Linked DNA regions of Homo sapiens: region 2 is linked to region 1. The links are contacts of gene promoters, found by promoter capture Hi-C in human tissues and cell types (Jung and others, 2019). All regions are on one chromosome and are shown on one strand. Each heading gives the region's core, a stretch centred on a gene start or on the middle of the fragment in contact. The rest is flanking DNA. Distances are from core to core; before and after follow the strand shown.

The links. The method cuts DNA at HindIII sites, captures the fragments that hold promoters and counts their contacts. A contact is called where the count stands out against the background at its distance.
Region 2: a contact is called between a fragment that was not itself captured here and the fragment with the promoter of KRTAP13-1 in region 1, in 1 of the 25 tissues and cell types used here (aorta).

The regions. Positions count from the first base shown.
Region 1 is chr21:30,393,200-30,397,878 of GRCh38, reverse strand. It overlaps KRTAP13-1 (keratin associated protein 13-1), which reads right to left and starts at 1,848. Exons shown (of 1, transcript NM_181599.3): 1 at 1,057-1,848. The coding sequence starts at 1,792. The coding sequence ends at 1,274. LOC105372772 (a long non-coding RNA gene) reads left to right here. Exons shown (of 4, transcript XR_937653.3): 4 at 4,519-4,663. RefSeq lists an enhancer at 1,491-1,992. The HindIII fragment of the contact is 9,904 bases long and covers 1-4,165 here.
Region 2 is chr21:30,263,401-30,267,792 of GRCh38, reverse strand. It overlaps the pseudogene RPL8P2. Among named protein-coding and RNA genes, the nearest start is that of KRTAP24-1, 17 kb to the left of the region's middle. The HindIII fragment of the contact is 4,144 bases long and covers 7-4,150 here.

The DNA.
Region 1 (4,679 bases), core at 599-3,098:
TATTTCTGTCTTTGCAAGTCAAAAATTTGCAGCTCCTTCAAGATATCGTACAATAAGTTTCCCTGTACATTCCTTATCATCTTTGTGTCTCCATATTTTTACATTTAACATCATTTACATGTATAATGGATCTCTTTCTCTAACAGCTGTTGTCTAAAGGAATAATGCATGGGAATAGTTATTGAACGTTGTTTGAGCTCTTTTTTTCTTCTCAACTTTAGGTTCCTTATTGAAATCTATTTATCTTCACACCTGTTTCTGGAACTGCTTTGCCTGAGAAAACAAAGAATGCTACCACAAAAAAGAGAAATAACATTTCCCTAATTTTATGCTCAGATGTGAATTAAATTATCACTTCTGATGATATCAAAAGGTTATTATCTTCAGCTTTACTTAGTGTGAAACATGAATACAAACCAAGGTGGAATATCAATCCTCCATTCAAGTTTCATGGTATCCCTTATTACACATATGTAGATAACTGAATCATATTGAATTCTCATCAATGAGATGCAGGCATTTGATCATGATTACCAACAAATATTGGGTGACTTCAAAAGTTACTTCAAATCACTTTTGTTTCTCTTCAATTCCATTTTTCTTTTATGTATATCTATAACCATATTGTTCTAAATAGTATTTTTTTCTCTGCAGATTCCTGATATAACTATCAACTAGTTTGCTACCTTATGCTTGTTGGCATAGACACAAGAATCCACATTTTATAAGGGGATCAAGCTAATTCCTGATTCTGATATTTTAATGAATAAAAGTCTGTAAATTTAGTAGACTTCCACTACCTGTAGTTTGAATAACAAAAATCTCTGAGGCCCCCAAAAGTTTGTCTGAATCGCAAACTTCATATGATTTTGAAACCTATTCCTATATATATACACCAATTGTTTCATAATAATTGCCTAATACATCACAACCAAAACCCTAGCAATATAAAACCACCACAAACATAGCTGAATATGAGACCAATGGATTTATTGGATTAAAATGATTTGACTTTTTATACAATTGTGGAAGAAAATCGAATAATATAAATTCTACTTTTAATGTGTATTTCAAGATTTATTTTGAGCTAGTTCTCCAATTACAGTTTTTCAGATGAAGCCTGCCAGCCAGTATTTGGGGACAAAGACAAACTGAGAACTTGATAATTATAGAATAAGAGGCTAATTCTTTCTGTACATGATGAAGACAATAAAGGTTATGAGTAGAGGCATTGAAGGCATTAGCCAACAAAATCAGCAATTTAACAAGATGATCAATAGTAGAAGCCTGATCCACAAGTTGGTCTGTAGCAAGAAGACTGGCAGCTCCTAGAAGCCAAGTAGGTTGGGCGGCAGAATCCAACGCCATAGCCCAGGGAAGGGAAGCCACAGCCTCCATAACCCAGGGATCTGAAGCCACTGGACCCACAGCCCACTGAGTAGCAGCTCCTCGATCCATAGCCCAGGGAGCGGCAGCTGCTGGATCCAAAGCCTAGAGACCCAGAGTAAGTTGTCTGGCAGGGACTGCAGAGCAAGGAGGTTCTGGGACGGTAGCAGGAGGTCTGGCAGGGGCTGGACTCCACATAGGATGTCTGGCAGCTGGTGGGCTCCCAGCAGGTCTGCTGACAGCCCCTATAGAGAGAGGAACCCAGCTGGCACGTGCTGGGAGAGCAGAGGTCAGTGCTGTAGACCTGGTTGCTGGGGTAGGAAAAGCCACAGGAGGAGGCTGGGTAGTGCAGGTAGCCACCACAGGAGCGGGAGGAGAAGTTTCCAGAGCAGCAGTTGTAGGACATGTTGATGGGAGATGTGAGTTCAGCTGAGTTACACTGAGAAGATTCTGAGTTTGCATGCCACATCTGGACAGGACCATTTATATACGTTCAGCCGTGGGTGTGGCACCTTACAGGGTCATCCTTCACACATTTAAGCTCCCACATTTCATATAAGCAACTTAGTAATCTTCTTTGTCATTGCAGTTAACTAACACCCTTCATCTTATATTTATGGAAGAACTCCTTTTGTTTTTACAGCTCTGCGTCAATGAAATGCATTTATGTTACAAATGCTATGACAGTATGTGATTAGTCCCTACTCCATTATGTCCAGGAAAACCCCTCTTATTTTCTCTGCCCATGATTTATACATCTGCTCCTGTTTTGGCTGGGAAATTCTTTCTGTCTTGGGTGGGGATAGCAATGTATTCATCTTTTTTTGTCAGTGGCCTAGAGGCAGAAATCTTATTGTTCACACTCTCCAAAATAGTTTGCCATCTGTTATTTACTATAATCAGTGCTTGTAAGTCCAGTCTCGAGGGCCTATATAAAAGTAAGCCAAAGGAATTGAGAGATAACTAGACATAGATATCATCTTGAACAAATTTTTTTAAAAAATTAGTATTTAGAAAAAAGAAATCAAAACAAAAGCAAAAAATAAATAAATACAAATACAACAATAAGGACCCATGTGAAAAAAAGGAAAGTAGAAGACACTGCTGAGATGAGGTAGGAAACAAGTCAGAGTAGTCACAATAGCAGAAGGATGCTCAGGACTCCATCCTAAAAGCAAATCAAAATGCTTTCAAATAAACTTATTTGATGACTTTTGTATGATGCATTCATATTTGTAAGTGTTCTGGAGCCTACCTGTCTACAACACCTCTAAACCCCCACCTCAAAATGTTGACTGCCTTCTGAGCATTTGCGGGGTAACACCAGCTTCTATGTTTTTCGTGACTCTGTCCCAGCCCTCTTTAAAGAGGTGGATTTAGGTTTTGTGGTGTTGAAAAGTATAATTTGGAGATCCTCATTAAAAACACAATATTAGGAATATAATAATAGATATAAACATGGATATTAACTTAGAATAAAAACTTCCATAGTTAACAAAACCCAAGATGTCACAAAATCAAGACAATAATATACCTTTATCATCATCCTCATCTATAATCTTTTTCTACATTTTTTGGTTGCATAGTCGGTCTTTGATCATCTCTACACATGACAATGGTTTTGTCCACATGATTTTCTGTAGAACAAATGGAAGTAAAACTTGGTGTTTCTTTTAGAAATAGTACATCAAAAATACTTGAATTATTTTTTATGACACAGAAAAGTTTTTTTTTTTTAACATTGCCATTTGTTGTGAGCAACGCCACAGCTGTAACACCCTCTGTCATTTCATTTCAGCAGTGCTTCAAGCCTGAGATTGTGCGCCTCTTGTCCAGATGTCCCTGGTTCACCTCCCACCTGTATCTGTTGGCAATTTGCATGAGGATCGGCTGCAAACAGCTGTGGATCCAGGGTTGTAGGGGTCTTCTAGTTTGTGGCAGAGCAGTATCCTCGTTCCAATCCTTCTTCTTAAAAGGAAAACTATGGGCCGGGGGCTGTGGCTCACGCCTGTAATCCCAACACTTTGGGAGGCCGAGGCGGGCGGATCACAATGTCAGGAGATAGAGACCATCCTGGCTAACACGGTGAAACCCTGTCTTTACTAAAAATACAAAAAATTAGCTGGATGTGGTGGCGGGCGCCTGTAGTCCCAGCTACTCGGGAGGCTGAGGCTGGAGAATGGCGTGAACCCCGGAGACAGAGCTTGCAGTGAGCCGAGATGGCGCCACTGCACTCCAGCCTGGGCGACAGAGTGAGACTCTGTTTCAAAAAAAAAAAAAAAAAAAAAAAAGGAAAACTTTCTAAGGTTTATAAGGTTGACCCTGGGGACTAGATATATTAGAAGTAGTGCAGGCAGCTCTCCGGATACACCCACAGCCTGAGGATGCCACGAGGGACTCCTAGGCCACAGCAGCATAGCTGGAGCAGCGGGTTCCTCCCAGTCTCCCCAGGAGTGATAACAGAGCTTTGGAAAATGTCAGGCAAGAGAAGTACCCTCAAGCTTACCCTTCATTAGGTTACATCTGTCTCTGCCTCTGCCTAACATGCCCTGCCCAAGATGTCTGAGCATGTGCTCATGACAGTCTCTCTAAGACATCAGGGACTTACATGGAACACCAGGTCTCCCTCGGACACCTGTCAGGACAATGTGTCTCTCTGGAGCTCCAGCCTCACTTTTAGTAATTACTTTGCTGTATGTGTTGTTGGTGTTTTTCTTGTCTTTGCTGCTGTTTAATCCCAAATCAAAACAGAAAACAAAATAAGAAAATGTCTGATAGCTTTATTATGTTCTTTGGATATATGTTTTCTAAAAATTCAAGACAAATTCCCTGACAGAATATATGCCAAAGTCCAAATATGTGATGTCAGGGGCTCAAGAAGTATAAAGCCATGGCTAATGTCATGGAATTGCAAATCTATTTAATAAAAAGGTAATTATACAACAGATACTGAAAGTATCAACTTTTTCTTAATGTAAATGTATGTTTAATTGGAATTTTCTTTAGAACTCACTAGATAAAACTTGCATAAGTAAAAAAAAAAAAATGACAAAGAAGCTTCCTCCACATCAAACAGCTACTTTTAACAACTTTATCTTGTGATCTTCTAAATATCTAAATTTCTGTCTATAGGCTCTTGGCAGCTGCGAGAAAAGTCCTAGCCCACAAGATGCTGTGAAGACCATTTCTTTCTCAAATCCTCATTTTCCAAGGAACTTTTTGAAGATAACCATCCTATCACAACTAAGGGTAACTTTTTGTTAACTGGAAATAATCAAATTAACAAAGTCAGC
Region 2 (4,392 bases), core at 829-3,328, 130 kb after region 1:
CACAGAGATAGGTGACTCTATATAAAGGTAAGAGGTGTTCCTGATATTAATTCCAGAATTAAATAGATTGAGCTGTTGCTATGGCCTGGATATTTATGTTCCCTCCAAAATTCATATGTTGAAATCCTAACCCCCAACTTGATGGTATTAGGAGATAGAGCATTTAGGAGATGATAATTAGGTCATGAGGGAGAAGCCGTCTATGAATGGGATTAATGCTCTTATAAAACAATCAGAGAGAACTGCCTTGCCCCTTCCACCGTGTGAAGATACAAAGAAGTTGGCAGTCTTCAACCAGGAAGCTGGCCCTCATCAGATACTGGGTCTGCCAGTGCCTTGGTTGTTTTCCAGACTCCAGAACTATAATAAATACACTTCTGTTATTGATAACCCACTCAATTTATGGTACTTCTGTTACAGCAGCCCAAATGGGCTAAGACATTCACCTAGAGACAGACGGTGCTAGACCACTGGAGTCCTAATCACGCTTAGGAGAGAAGTAGAGCAGAATAGAAGCTACCTGATGGGAAGGAAAGGAGGTGCTGATTAAGCATGCCTAATTCCATATCCAAGCCCATTGATCAGACAAGAAAACCTCCCTCTACCTGCCTAATGGACAGAGGGAGGTCAGAAACTTTTTCCTAGTGGTGTTCCCGCCACATGGACGTCAACACTGAGAGCTGAGACTTGGAGGTGGGGGTGTCATTCTCCACATTCTCTAACCCCACTGGTGATTAATGCCAGGGAAATAGTAAAGATATCTGTCTTGCCATCAAATTGTCAATGGCTAGATTATTGTCTGGCAATTAATAATCCCTTAATAGTCATTTGTTGAACAAGTTGAGTAGATCGATTCTTACTTTTATGGAAATGTATACATTTAGAAAACTTAAATTCAAATTCTGGTTTCGATACTAACTAGCAGTGTTACTTTGGGCAAGTAATTTAACGTCTCTAGTCCTCAATCACTTGTCTGTCATATGGCATGATAGGCCTTTATCTACAATTAATTCTGGGATGCATTCCAATTTCACAATTCTGTTACTCGTCTTCACATTAGTGGTTTGGATAATCTATGGCTGCTTTTGTAATCACAAAGTCTGTATCATAAACAAATGCTAAAATAAGTATGCTTGGTGGGTAGCCAGAAACGTACGGGCTGATTCTACGCATAGGGTTTTCCTTCATTTTCTATTCTCTTAGTATTTTATTTTTCATGAGAATAGTACAAGAGGTTAGAAAAGAGGACTTATTATCCTACATCCTGCCTTCCTAGGTGCCTTCTTTGACCTCTAGCATGAGCATTCAATGTCCAGCACAGTATTTTGGCACATCTATCAAATAATCAACATGAAATCCTTTACTTAAGTGTAATTTCTAAAGAAGTGGTTATAGGAGGCAGTGCTGATGAGCAGAAATAGCATTTTAAAAGATAGAAAACATCTGAGCTCTCCCCAAACCTTGTATTTCTATGTGGAAACTTATGGAAGTCATATTAACCCTCAGATACTCAGGTTTTACCATCATAAAATAGGAGGCTATAGTACCACTCTGTATTCTTTCACTTCCAACATTCAACAATTCAGACTAATGCACTGAAGAATACAGTATATTTTTATGGCTAAAATTTGCCCCCAGGTATGGCAGACTTCCACAGTTACTACTTGAGACTATCACTACGGCAGTTACTACTGTTACTACCTGAGACTGTCATTAGGAGACTGAACGAAGGAGGAAGAACATAGAAATGAAAGCTTCAGACAAAAGAAACTATTTTAAAGGAAGGGGCCAGGGGAAGAAGAAAAGGGCTCCCTTCTCCTAATGAGCAAAGGCAGCCGTGCTGAGCTTCTACAGCCCTTCGTATTTATTGAGTAGAAAGAGCAGGGAGGAGGAGGTAACAATTGGTCAGCTGCTTCATTGATCACAGGTTCACTTTATTGCTAACAGGCTTCAGATGTGCCTAATCACAAGAAACACTTGTGCCTGGGTCGTGGCAGCCCTTAGCATTCCTTCTGGGTGGCAGACCCAGTTTGTCAGTTTGCCAACATCCTGCTTTCATGAGAAACAGTTTGCTGTTTACTCATATGGCCTTCAGTGGTATACTGAGTTGATCATGACCCTCATTCGTTCGGCCTTCAACACCCAGGAATACACATTTTAAGACCTGAGATTTTGGTTTTCCTGATCTGGTAGGTAGATATAAATAAAAGACTGAAAGCACCACTATTGTTCAATATTTCTGGGAGTTAAATTTATTATTTTTTTTAATTTTAATTTTAAATTTTTGTAGCTACATGGTGTATATATTTATGGAGTACATGAAATGTTTTGATACAGGCATGCAATTCATAATAACCACATCATGGAGAATAGGATATCCATCCCTTTACATGTAATCTTATTATACTCTTTTAGTTATTTTAAAATATACAATTAAATTATTATTGACTACTGTCACCTGTTTTGCTATCAAATAGCAGGTCTTATTCATGCTTACTAATTATAACTATTACTAACTATAATGGGAGTTAAATTTATAGCGTCCATTTTAAGGTCAATTTGACATCAGTTGCTAAAATTTAGAATATGTAAACCTTGTGGGTTAGCTCTCCCACATCTAGGAGCGGTATAGAATAGTAAAGCATAAAGTCTCCAGGCAGAAGAGCCTGAGTTTGAATTGTAGGCCTACAAGCATGGGGCCTGAGATGCTACTTTCAGACTCTACATGTCAGTTTCCTCGTCTGTAAAATAGGGATTGCAATAAAACTCCATCAAGTGATGGTAAGGGCTAAATGAGACAATACGTATATTTTAAAGAGCTTAGAAATGTACCAGGAATAATGTAGCTACTTAGTGAAAGATAGCTATTACCACAGCTACTGTTATTACGGATTGAGCATCCCTCATCCAAAGTGCTTGGGACCAAAGGCATTCTGGATTTCAGATTTGTTCGGATCATGGAATATTTGCATTACAATGGTTCAGCATCCCAAATTTGAAAATCCCAAATCTGAAATGTTCCAAGGAGCATTTCCTTCTAATATTATGTCACTGCTGAGAAAGTTTTGGGATAAGTGCAGCAAACCACCATGGCACACGTTTACCTATGTAAGAAACCTGCACATTCTGCCCAAGTATCCCAGGACCTAAAATAAAATACAATTTTTTAAAAAAGTTTTGGATTTTGAAACATTTTGAATTTTGGATTTTCAGATTAAGGATACTCAATCTATATTATTATTATAGATAATGGTGAGAACCTGTTCACAGAATACATGTTTAAGGATTTTCATTTAACAAGGCTTTTACTGAAAATACAGAAAATAATCAGCTAAATTACTACCAGTAGTGGAATGTAAGGTAGGAAGATGACAGAAGATGAATAATTAATACGTGATACTAACGGTCTCAAAGCCAGCCATGGGGACATAACTGGAAATAGAAAGAAATGGAGACGCCACTGAGAAATTTATGGAGAAGTTTTAGGAACACCTGGAGAATAAGAAGGTGATTCTGAGCATGGGTAGAAAAATGACAACTTGGAGTAAAAGGTTTGTTGCCAAAAATAGGGAGAGAGAAAGGTCAGGGACGTTGATTTATTTTTGCACTGCTTTTATTGCTAAATGTTCTGAAAGGATCATTTCCTCCCCCATGACAAAAAATGCTCCATCAGCACCAGCCCAGGGTCTCTGTGGAAATCAGGATGGAAGGTGGATCAATCAAATTCAGCAAGAGAGGGGTTTGCCACTGCAAGTCTCAATTGATTGTGGGAAGAGGTCACATTTTGTGGAGGGCTTGAGAGACAGAGTCTTTAAAAAAATGCTTGTTACATTTTCAAATTATGAATTGAAATTCTAGCACCATTATTATAAAATATTAAACCTCATTTTAATATGAAATAGTAAAATGTTGCCCAGCTCAACATTGGCAATGTTCTCTCTGTGGATACCATGCCTGAGAGGTACAATCATGTGCTGCTTGGAGGAGAAGCCTAGAGACCATGGCAAGCTGACCCAGGCATCAGGGAACTATGCCACAGTTATCTCCCACAATCCTGAGACCAAGAAGAGCCGTGTAAAGCTACCCTCTGGCTCCAAGAAGGTTACCTCCTCAGCCAACAGAGCTGTGGTTGGTGTGGTGGCTGGAGGTGGCCAAATTGACAAACCCATCCTGAAGGCTGGCTGGGCATACCACAGATATAAGGCAAAGAGGAACTGCTGGCCACAAGTACGGGGTGGGGTGTGAACATGAACCCTGTGGAGCATCATTTCGGAGGGAGGTGGCAGCCACCAGCACATCGGCAAGCCCTCCACCATCTGCAGAGATGCCTCTGCTGGCCAAAGTGGGTCTCATTGCTGCCCGCCAGACGGGATAGTCTAGGGAACCAAGACC